Linked DNA regions of Homo sapiens: region 1 is linked to region 2. The links are contacts of gene promoters, found by promoter capture Hi-C in human tissues and cell types (Jung and others, 2019). All regions are on one chromosome and are shown on one strand. Each heading gives the region's core, a stretch centred on a gene start or on the middle of the fragment in contact. The rest is flanking DNA. Distances are from core to core; before and after follow the strand shown. Region 1 has its middle 21 kb from the start of CCNA1. Region 2 holds the start of CCDC169 (coiled-coil domain containing 169).

The links. Contacts are between HindIII fragments. The study calls those that stand out against the background at their distance.
Region 1: a fragment that was not itself captured here is called in contact with the fragment with the promoter of CCDC169 in region 2 in 6 of the 25 tissues and cell types used here (H1 embryonic stem cells, dorsolateral prefrontal cortex, hippocampus and 3 more).

What each region holds. Positions count from the first base shown.
Region 1 is chr13:36,408,915-36,414,992 of GRCh38, reverse strand. No RefSeq gene overlaps it. Among named protein-coding and RNA genes, the nearest start is that of CCNA1, 21 kb to the left of the region's middle. The HindIII fragment of the contact is 7,245 bases long and covers 1-4,930 here.
Region 2 is chr13:36,294,238-36,300,249 of GRCh38, reverse strand. CCDC169 (coiled-coil domain containing 169) reads left to right here and starts at 2,436. Exons shown (of 8, transcript NM_001144981.3): 1 at 2,436-2,613; 2 at 4,393-4,472. The coding sequence starts at 2,531. CCDC169-SOHLH2 (CCDC169-SOHLH2 readthrough) reads left to right here and starts at 2,436. Exons shown (of 16, transcript NM_001198910.2): 1 at 2,436-2,613. RefSeq lists enhancers at 885-1,847, 1,848-2,809. The HindIII fragment of the contact is 10,512 bases long and covers 1-6,012 here.

The sequences.
Region 1 (6,078 bases), core at 59-2,558, 120 kb before region 2:
TGTTATTGATTCTTCCTAGCCATTAGCATGGAATGTTTTCTATTTGTTTGTGTCATCTCTGATTTCTTAGAGCAGTGGTTTGTAGTTCTCCCTGAAGAGCTCCTTCACTTCCCTTGTTAGCTATATTCCTAAGTATTTTATTCTTTTTGTCGAAATTGTGAACGGGAGTTCATTCGTAATTTGGCTCTCAGCTTGCCTGTTGTTGGTGTGTAAGAATGCTAGTGATGTTTCACATTGATTTCATATCCTGAGACTTTGCTGAAGTTGCTTATCAGATTAAGAAGCTTTTGGGTTGAGACAATGGGGTGTTCTAAAAATAGAATCCTGTTATCTTCAAACAAAGATAGTTTCACTTCCTCTCTTCCTATTTGAATACACTTTATATCTTTATCTTGCCTAATTGTCCTGGCCAGACCTTCCAATACTATGTTGAATAGGAGTGGTGAGAGAGGGCATCCTTGTCTGTCTTGTGCTGGTTTTCAAGGGTAATGCTTCCAGCTTTTGTCCATTCAGTATGATATTGGCTACAGGTTTGTCATATATGGCTCTTATTATTTTGAGGTATGTTCCTTCAATACCTAGTTTATTGAGAGTTAATATAAAGGGATGTTGAATTTTATTGAAGGATTTTTCTGCATCTAGTGAGAAAATCATGTAGTTTTTGTCTTTAGTTTTCTTTATGTGATGAACCACATTTATTGATTTGCGTATATTGAATCAACCTTGCATCCTGGGGACGAAGTCTACTTGATTGTGGTGGATAAGCTTTTTGATGTGCTGCTGGATTCAATGGTTTGCCAGCATTTTGTGGAAAATTTTTGCATTGATGATCATCAAGGATATTGGCCTGAAGTTTTCTTTTTTTGTTGTATCTCTGCCAGGTTTTGGTATCAGGATGATGCTGGCCTCCTAGAATGAGTTAGGGAGGGGTCCCTCCTTTTCAGTTGTTTGGAATAGTTTCAGTAGGACTGCTACCAGCTCTTCTTTGTACCTCTAGTGGAATTCAGCTGTAAGTCCTGGGTTGTTTTTTTTTTTTGGGGGGGGGTTCGTGGGCTATTTATTACTGCCTCAATTTCACAACTTGTTATTGGTATATTCAGGGATTCAACTTCTTCCTGGTTTAGTCTTCAGAGTGTGTATATGTGCAGGAATTTATCAATTTCTTCTAGATTTTCTAGTTTATGTGCACAGAAGTATTTATAATGTCTCTGATGGTTGTTTATATTTCTGTGGAGTCAGTGGTAATATCCTTTTTATCATTTTGATTGTGCTTATTTTATCTCCTTCTGCTCTGTGAAGACACAATGAGAAGACTGCCACTATGAATAAGGAAGTGGGTCCTCACCAGACACTGAATCTACAGGCACCTTGATATTGGAGTTCCCAATTTCCAGAACTGGCATTTCAAGATCAAGGATTCAGCAGGTTTGGTTTCTCCTGAGGCTTCTCTCCTTGGTTTGCAAATGGCTGTCTTCTTACCCCGTCCTCACATGGCTTTTTCTCTGTGCATACATCCCTGGTGTCTCTTCCTTTTCTTATAAGGCCACACACAGTTCTGTTGGACTAGGGCCCCATCCTTATGATGTCATTTACCCTTAATTACCACTTTAAAGGCCCTATCTCCAAATACAGTCACACTGGAGGTTTGGGCTTCAACACAGGAATTTGGGAGGGAGGCACAGTTAAGTCCATAACAGCATTTTGGGAATAATGATGTCAGAAAAAAATGTATCAGTGTTGCCATTGGAAAATGGAAATTATATTCACTTTGATTTACTATAATCATATTCATGTGTTTATTCATTTGGGAATTCTTTATTAAGCATTTACTCTGTAAGACACATACTGTTCTGTAGTCCTATGATCTGTGTGTTTTGGTTATCTTCTGTTGCATAACAAACCACCTCAAAAACTTAGTAACTTAAAACAACAACAGTATGTATTTTGCTCACAAATCTACAAGATGGTCAGAGTTCTACTTGATGTTAGCTGAGGCAGCTCAAAGACTAGCCACGGGAATCATCTGATGGCTCATTCACTTACATATCTGGCAGATGATGCTTGCTTTTGGCTGAGACCTTAGTCTTGGCTATTGGCCTCTCCATGGAGCCTGGGTTTCCTCAAAACATGGCACTGGTTCAGAAACAGGGATAGACAGAAACATAAAAAGATCACCAGGCAGACACTATCTTGCCTTTTCCAACCTAGCCTCAGAACTCACACAATGTCACTTTCAGAACATTTCATTTGTTAAACTTGAGTCACTTAGGTTGGCTTATATTCAAGAGAAGCGGAATTGGGTTCTATCTTTTTATAGGAGTAGTGTCAAAGAATTTGTAGGCGTGGTTAAAACCACCATGCCATGTTGATATAGTTTGGTTCTGTGTCCCCACCCAAATCTCAGCTCAAATTGTAATTCCCATAATCCCCACATGTTGAGGGAGGGTCCTGGTGGGAGATGATTGGATCATAGGGTGATTTCCCCCATGTTGTTTTCATGATAGCAAGTGAATTCTCACGAGATCTAATGGCTTTATAAATGGCAGTTTTCCCTCCTCTCCTCCTTCCTGCTGCCTTGTGAAGAAGGTGCCTGCTTTCCCTTCACCTTCTGCAACAATTCTAAATTTTCTGAGGCCTCCCCAGCCATGCAGAACTTCAAGTCAATTAAACCTCTTTCCTTTATAAATTACCCAGTCTCAGGCATTTCTTTATAGCAGTGTGTAAATGGTTAAACATGAATATGGTAAATACCTTAAAGATTTTCTGTGGCTTCAATGATTGAAAAACTTTACCCTAAAGAACAATAATACCAAAGACAAAACTACAACAAAATGTGAGTAACTGTTAAGCCAAAATATAGACCAGGTTATTTGAAGAATGTTGTTTGTTTTTGTGTTTTACCAAATTAGTCCTCAGAGAAAAAGAGTTACTTAACGCTATAGACTAAATGTTTATGTCCCCTCAAATTCATATGTCGAAATCCTAACTTCCAAGGTGATGGCATTAGGAGACTGAGTCTTTAGGAGTTGATTAGGTCATGAGGGAGGAAACCTCATGAATGGGACTAGCGTCTTCATAAAAGAGACCCCAGAGATCTCCCTCTCCCCTTCTGCTCTGTGAAGACACAATGAGAAGACTGCCACTATGAATAAGGAAGCGGGTCCTCACCAGACACTGAATCTACAGGCACCTTGATATTGGAGTTCCCAATTTCCAGAACTATGAGAAATAAATATTTGTTGTTTATAAGGTACTCACTCTATGGTATTCTGCTGTGGCAGCCCAAATGAACTAAGACACTTAATATCCAAGCCCTCTCCAAGATTCTTGTTTGATGGAAGTATTCTTCCAATTATTCTATTTTAATTACAAATTATTTAGGAAAGACAAATTAGCCTGAAAAGATGTCAATTAGAGCTATATGGGGAATCTTAAAAGGTCATCTAACTGAGCTAATAAAAAGACAAAGCCTTTTAGTACAGATTTGGTAATTATTCTTCCAGGTAGGACCTTCAAATTGTAGTGCTGGGATATGGATATAAACAAGATTACTAAGATCAGTTTTTCATAAAGCAACTCACCTTTGCTTTGTGGAGATAACAAATGTAAGTCTCATAGGACAATGAAAAACAATTGTTCTACTGTTTCACAATTGGCTACTTTGTTTTGGAATAAAACTTACAATTATAGTATCATATGCCAATCCAAAGGTATTTTATCTTAAAAGTTGTTTTATCTCAAGATACTTAAAATTGGAAAAAATTAGATGGCTCAAACAGTGGCTCTTCTGATAATGAAGACTCTTGTCTTCAAGAATTTGAAGAAAATTTGAGTAAAATTATTTCTGAAATGAGAAGAAATATTTCAAAATTGGCACATTTTTATAATATTATTTCAAATATAATTGTATAAGCAGATTCATATTAACTAGCTCAAGTAAACATTGACTATTTTGTTAACATCCATTGTGTTCATATATTCATGTTGACCAAAAAGCTTTTTGTATTTTTCCATTATGAAAACAGAGAGCCACCTCATATTTAGGGTTGCCTTTTAATCAGCATATATATTATTTTAAAAGCTTAGCTTTCAGTAATTATCCTTCAGTTCAAATCTATGAATAACATAGTCTGTGTTTTTACTAAATTGGTTTCTTTTCCCTTTGTATTATTGTGTGATAACTAATACAGTAATACAGATTTTCATGGAGCAGACGCATTATCAATGTGATTAATTTCTGAATACAAGCAACCAAACACAGTACCATATACACAAAGGCCCATTTAACAAAGATTTCACTGAAGTAATTCAGTGAGTCTTACTTAATGTGTATCACAAAGAAATGATGGGATTATTGGCAGAGAAAGCTTTCTTCTCAATCTGTGGGGTGGTGTGAGCCAGGAGAGTGCATGCTAGAAGGCCATGGTCAGAACTGCTACCTGGAAAGGTCCAGATCCGCACATGGACTTCTGTTGGAAAAGAACTACAGCTCACTCACCTGTGCAAACTCAGGTCACACCATAAGCTCTCTGTGTACATTAGCATTTTTACCCTGAATTAGATTATTATTCTTTTTATACATTTTAATTAAAATATTGTTATATCTCTATCATAATGAAACTAAGGAAAATACAGTTTCTTTTCTTTTTCAACGTAATGTTAACATTTAAAAGAAAAATTTGTATTTTGGCTCATAGGCAGTGACTATGTCTACATATTTCATTTGTCCAATTCCTTTTTTTTTTTTTTGAGATGGAGTCTCACTCTGTCACCCAGGCTGGAGTGTAGTGATATTATTTTGGCTCACTGAAACCTCCACTTTCCAGATTCAAGCAATTCTCCTGCCTCAGCCTCCCGAATAGCTGGGATTATAGGCGTGCACTACCACACCCAGCTAATTTTCTTTTTTGTATTTTTAGTAGAGACAGGGTTTCACCATGTTGGCCAGGCTGGTATCAAACTCCTGACCTCAGGTAATCCTCCTTCCTTGGTCTCCCAAAGTGCTGGGATTACAGGCATGAGCCACTGCACCCAGACAATTTGTCCAATTCTTGGTTTCTTGTTTCCCAGAACAATCATAAATGCACTATTATTCTACTTCTGACACTTTTTCCACAGTGTTCAAAGTATTAGGAATAGCAGATGGTCAACAGCTTTCTGTGGACTGACAAAAGCAATTACTTATTTCTGAAAACAAAGGGAAGTATGTTTTCTATTTTCACTAAATGTGACTGGTGACTTACTAATTAAGTTTCACTTAGAACACATTATACAATAACTTATTACTCAAAATAAGTAGACATAATTATTCCTCTTTGAAATGAAGAATTAAAAAGAAATTGAATAACTGTCCTGAATGAGGATGACTTTTTAAAAGGCCAGACTAAGATCTCTTTAGAATGGGTCTCCTTCCCCTATGAAATTAGGAACATGAAATAGTATTATTTAATTTGGGCAATTAAATAATGTTTCAGGATTAATTAGATATGAAGCTTAGTCTTCTGAGCTATCCTGATTCTTATAATATTCTACTGATACCATTTGTTGAAATATGTCACCCACTTTGACTCTCGTTGTTCTCACTGATAGATTCAGTGCTGACAGCACTATTTAATTCTGCATTATTACTCAACTGTGTCTAAGGGTTATAAGACCTTTGTGGAACTTATATATTTATCCTTCAAGCTCTGGGTAGCTGAATCTTTACCTTATGGGAACATGCACTCTTCAATAATGAAAATATTTAAATGGTGATTAAAGTTTAATAAAACTGCCAAGTCAATGAGATGAATGTCTTTAGAGATAATTTCCCGTGCCAGATTTTAGAAGTGATATAAAATTTATTTTCACATATTTATCTGCAAAGCCTTTTCAGATCCACTTACATTAAGGAGATACCATGGAAACTCCAAGAAAAATAGTTTCCAATATTTGGAGGCTTCAGGGATTTTGTTGTTATTTGCTGCTGGGGCAAAGAAAAGCATTCTGGAAAAGGTACCAAGTTACAAAAAGTAATATATTATCTAAATTTGCTTTGGAAAGAAAATAAAAAGGTTATATGGTGCTGTTTTGATTATT
Region 2 (6,012 bases), core at 1,187-3,686:
TAAAAAGTTAACCACTTAATGTCTATAGATGAATGCACACTTACACATAGACATATAGCTTAGAAGGTCTGGAAAACTGTAATTTTGAGTTGGTCTGGTTATAGTTTCCAGGGCTTCTGCCTGTAACTGGTTCCAGAAATAAAAACTCTCTTCCTCCCCAGTTCATCTACATGTTCTTACTGGGTCACAAGAAATAGCAACCCAACCCTCAGTTTGGTCTGGGAACACCCTGTGCAGCTCTCCCCTCCAATATCTGCCCTGCAAAGTCTAGCTGCCTTGTTCTCTCTAGACTCTTAGAGAAACTCCGTTTCCTCAACTTAGGGCAACCACCAGCCTCTGCCTGTTTTCTCCCTTTCTGCTTTGTACCCTGGCAGGCCCAGGCCAATTTGGGAGCTTGCCTCATTTGTGTCTCATCTCTTGGTGATCGTTTTCCCTTATTGCCTGATGTTCAATGTTCTTTTTTTGTTCCTCTTAGTTTTTTAGTTGTTTCAGGCAGGAGGGTAAATTCAGGTCCTTTATCTCTGCCAGAAACACAAATCTGTGGTTTCTGTAGTTGTTGACAAACCTGTTTTCTGCTTGCCTTTGCTCCTAATTTCCCACAGTGAGATCCTGCTAACAGATCTTTTTAAGAAATCCTCTGGGTCGGGTGCAGTGGCTCATGCCTATAATCCCAGCACTTTGGGAGGCAGAGGTGGGTGGATCACGAGGTCAGGAGTTCAAGACCAGCCTGAGCAATATGGTGAAACCCCATCTCTACTAAAAATACACAAAAAAATTAAGCCAGGCATGGTGGTGCGTGCCTGTAGTCCCAGCTACTTTGGGAGGCTGAGGCAGGAGAATTGCTTTAACACAGGAGTGGAGTTTGCAGTAAACTGAGATTGTGCCACTGCACTCCAGCCTGGGAGACAGATGAGACTCCGTCTCAAAAAAGAAATCCTCTGTATATTTGGATTTGTCAACAGATAATCTAGTCCTTTTCACTTCATTCTATTCTGTTTACTTGGTTGTGAGTTGCCCTTTCAGACTTAACAGCTAGACAAAATTTTGATAAGCATACCTCCTATATTAGGGTAATTCACAGAAACAGAACCAATAGGGAGTGTGTGTATAAAAGATTTATTATAAGGAATTTGCCCGTACAATTATGAAGGCTGAGAAGTCTCAGGATCTGCAGTTGACAAGCTGGAGATGCAAGCAAACTGATGTGCAGTCCCAGTCTGAGCCCAAGGCTGGAAAAGTGTTCCAGCTCAAGCTGTTTGGCTGTAGGAGCTCCCTCTTACTCCTGGGAGGTCAGCCTTTTTGTTCTATTCTGTCTTCGGTCGATTGGCTGAGGCCCACCCACATTGGGGAAGACAATGTACTATACTCAGTCTACCAATTGAAATGTTAATCTCATCCAGAAACTCAATTGGAAAACTATGTATTCACAACACTTCTGACACCAAATTGTGTTTTCCACACCAATTATCCCATTCTCACTAAAACCTTGGTCTCCACAACCCCTTTATTCTCTAAAGACATTCCTAAGTCTTTAGTCAGTAACTTTTCAACCAATTGCCAATCAGAAAATCTTTGAATCTAGCTGTGACCTGGAAGCCACCCCGTCCCCCACCCCTTCCAATTGCCCTGCCTTTCCCGATGGAACCAGTGTATATCTTAACATGCATTTGATTGATGTCCCATGTCTCCCTAAAATGTATAGAACTAAGCTGTACCCTGACCACCTTGGGCACGTGTTCTCAGAATCTCCTGAGGGCTGTCACCCGCCATTGGTCACTCATTTGGCTCAGAATAAATCTCTTCAAATATTTTACAGAGTTTGTCTCTTTTTGTCAAGGAAACACAGATGTATCAAGGGTAGGATGCAAACTTTGTGATTAAAAATATAATGAAATTTCAAGTTGCAGTGAGCAGCTCTGAGGTATGTTCATGAACAGCACACAGATGCAAAACAATAATCTGGAGGGTTAGCAGTCTTCCCGAGTTCAGGAGGTACCTTTTTAAGACCAGTTCCTCCCGCTCCGACACTGCCAAATCAGCGACTCTGGTGCTTGTTCAACTGAAGCAAAGAAGGGCGCAGCTAATCTTGGATCCAGCGTTTCCCTAACAAGGGCTAAGAGTGAAGCCGACTTTGCCGTCCGGGGCAATGTTTAGGAAAGCAACCAAAGCCAGCAGGAGGGAAGAAAAAGGAGAGGGATATTCTTGGCCCCCTGACACTCCGCTGTGTAGCCGGAGCACGTCTAACCCCAGCGTCTTGAGCAAGGAGTGTCCCTGGAGCTGTTATCCAGGGTCGCTCCACCGCACAGAGTAGGCTTCTCCAGTCTCCCCGGCTGCCCTCGCCCCACCCCCTGCCGCCTGCGGGCATCGCTTTATGACGTCACCACGTGCCTCTGCGGGCAGGCGCGGGAGGTGCGACCGGGGGGCGGTTGGGGTTCACCGCCTCGTGCCGTACTGGCTTCTGGGTGGCCCTTAATGTCTTGTGCTCTAAGGTGCTGAGGGGAAAGACGCGGGAGGTCTCTGGCCTGACACTATGAAGGAAGAGAGAAACTACAACTTCGACGGTGTGAGCACCAACCGCCTGAAACAGCAGTTGCTGGAAGAAGTCCGCAAGAAGTGAGTCGGCGGGCGGCGCGGTGTGGGGTCCCGTCCACACCCCCCGAGCCTTCACCTGCAGAGTCTCAGGGCTGAAGCCGCTGAGGGTGCTGTAAGACCGGCGCCGTGATTAACCCCTGGGCACTTCGGTCTGGGTTCCAAAAGTATTCCATGCGAAAGATTCACGTGCCTCTTTGAGTAAGCCTTTGGTATTGTTAAGTAGGCAGCTTTCCGGGTAGGATGTGCTGCCCTTAAGGATCCAATCATATGGCGTGTATTTTGCCCATATACTGTAATGCCAAAAGTTGTGTTTGGTTTTGATGTCTCCATAAATCCAGGTTTTCTGCTTAAAATTCCAAAGATTTTATTTAGTTATACGGGGTTTTTTTTTTCTTTCATCCCTTTAAGGGGAACTTCATAAAATGACATTTAGTAAAACTGTTACTCCTCCTTTATGCTTTTTAAAAACAGTATTCGTACTTCGTGTTAAATTTTTGAAACATTTAAAGTATTTTTTGGACATACTCCCAACTCCATCCACAAGTCCCGTGAGAATTGGACTCTCCTTTGTGCCTAGATAGGGTTCTGGGTTTTCCTCTATTGTAGCTCCAGTCACAGTATTTTAATTGCCTGTCTATTTCTTGTTTTGCTACCAAACTACACGCGTTCTGAGGACAGGTTCTGTGTATTCTGAGGAAGTAGAGAATAAGAGCAAGTACTTGAGGACAGTCCTGCAAAAACACAAACTCCATCTCTTGTCACTCAGTAACTATGCAATCTTAGACAAGTTAATTAACCTCTTTAATCCTCAGTTTTCTCAGCTCTAAGACTGGTATACAAATAGTCATCTCATACCTCCTGCTGTTGTTCCCAGGTTGGAATGAAATGCACTATAAAGAACTTAGCATTGGCTTGTGATACGCATCCAGTGGAACTTTGCTGCCGCTATTGCTATTTTTCTGTTCACTGTTCACTGAATTCTTCCGTATTTAATACAATGCCTTGAACATAATAGGCACTCAAAAATATTTATTGAATAAATGGCCCTGTCATATGATAATGTTCTATTTACTGATGCCCTAAATAGCTAACCTTTTAAATTAGTGTTTGTTTTTTTCTCTTTGTTTCAGTTTGTCAGCTGTTATGTATTGCCCTAGGTATGCCTTTCTGTAATAATGTGCAGTGCCTAATTTGCTTGGTTCTGAAAAACCAGGTAACTAACTTCTTTAGGATGATATTTAAGTTAAAAATAAAGGATTTCCAAGGGCCGGGCCTGGTGGCTCACGCCTGTAATCCCAGCACTTTGGGAGGCCGAGGCTGGGCGGATCACAAGGTTAGGAGTTCGAGACCAGCCTGGCCAATATGGTGAAACCCTGTCTCTTCTAAAAATACAAAAAAATTAGCAGGGCTTGGTGGCGCATGCCTGTAATCCCAGCTATTCAGGAGGCTGAGGCAGGAGAATTGCTTGAACCCGGGAGGCGGAGGTTGCAGTGAGCCGAGTTTGCACCACTGCACTCCAGCCTGGGCGACAGAGCGAGATTCTGTCTCAAAAAAATAAATAAAAATAAATAAAAGATTTCTAATGGTTGCCTGGGGGTCTTTGAGCTTTAGTGCATATTTGAGTCCTAGAACTGACTAATTGGAAGCCTTCCTTTGCCTGAGTCTTATTTCTTAACCAGTCCTTCAGTAAATAATGTGTCATAGTAAATTGTTCCTGAAGTAGTAGTGGGTTACTATGTATTATTTTTCTGATGTTATTTTTAATTGAATTATAATCAACAAAAATATTTTAAATAACAGGGATGCAGTGCAACTCTCAATATTTGAACTAAGACACAAGATTACGGAACTGGAAGCCAAACTCAATACTGACAATGAAGGTATATAAGTAAATACTTATATTTGTGACTCCTGTATAATTATTGTTCATTTTACCAGGATATCTATGGTGCATTAAATTCCATATATTGAATAATAGTACCAACATTTCAGTATTGCTTTTTGGCCACATTAATGATAGTTTATGATAGAGGCTTTAAAACTGATACTTCAGAATATCAAACCTATTACTATTTAATTATTTTTCTACCTTTCAAGTTCAAAATGTTCATTAATTAGCAAAAACTTTGTTACATGACATCAATATATTATTTCTTTATTAAATAAATATCACCAGTTTTCTATTCACCTCAAGTTACACTCTTTATATCTTAACTTCTAGGTTTGGGATATGTTTAAAATCCGTATCTAGGTTTTAGCTATTGTTGTTGGAAGAATGTGTGTTTGGTGTGGAGGATGCTGTGTACCTACACACTCATATATCCTTAAAATTTGTAATGTATGCAAGATATGACCCTGCCATATGTCAACACTTTAAATGGAAGACCTTTGTTTTCCCTGTTCTAAAGAGGTTCATTGACTATTGGGAGAAAGTATCAAATCAGATTATGGATATGAGAAGTCATATAAGTTCTATGTAAGGATAAATGAAAACTTAGGGAAGGGAAACCTAACAGAATTCGGGTGAGTTAATAAAGACAGGCTTTCCAGAACAGGCATTGTTTGAACTGAATGCTAAAGAACAGGAGGACTTTATTAGGATTATCAGGGTGGGCATTTATAAGGGAGGAGACCACCCCTCATATTGTCTTATGCCCAATTTCTGCCTCCAGAGAAAGAAGAAATAAAAACTAAAAGGCAGAAATGAAATCCACAGGCAGACAGCCCAGCACCACACCCTGGGCCTGGTAGTTAAAGATTGACCCCCAACCTAATCGGTTATGTTATCTATAGATTACAGACATTGTATGGAAAAGCACTGTGAAAATCCCTGTCCTGTTCTGTTCTGTTCTAATTACTGGTGCATGGAGCCCCCAGTCACGTACCCCCTGCTTGCTCAATCAATCTCAACCCTCTCATGCAGACCCCCTTAGAGTTCTAAACCCTTAAGAGGGACAGGAATTGCTTACTCGGGGAGCTCATTTTTTTGAGATGTGAGTCTTGCTGATGCTCCCGGCCGAATAAAGCCTTACCTTCTTTAACTTGGTGTCTGAGGGGTTTTGTCTGTGGCTCGTCCTGCTACATTTATACTCTTCCTCAATTGGGGAGCCATGAACAAAAAGGAATAGTGGCCATATGGGAAATAAAATGCCACTTTCTATAAGTACCCAGTGCTTTGTTAAAGCTTGGTTGCAGAATACTACTTTGTCCCAAGGCTGAAGTAGCTTCCTCTATCTCCATATCTATATCTTAGATATAACCTCAGTCTCTGGGGGCAGGCTCTCAGTGTACTTATCAAGTAGCTGCGTTGGCAGGGTAACTGGAACGTCCTCATGTACCCAGTTACAGGAAAAACAGAAGGCATGCTCACAGGTACACATGCAATAACTATGCCCAGTAGTAAAATGTGGCTCAACAAGT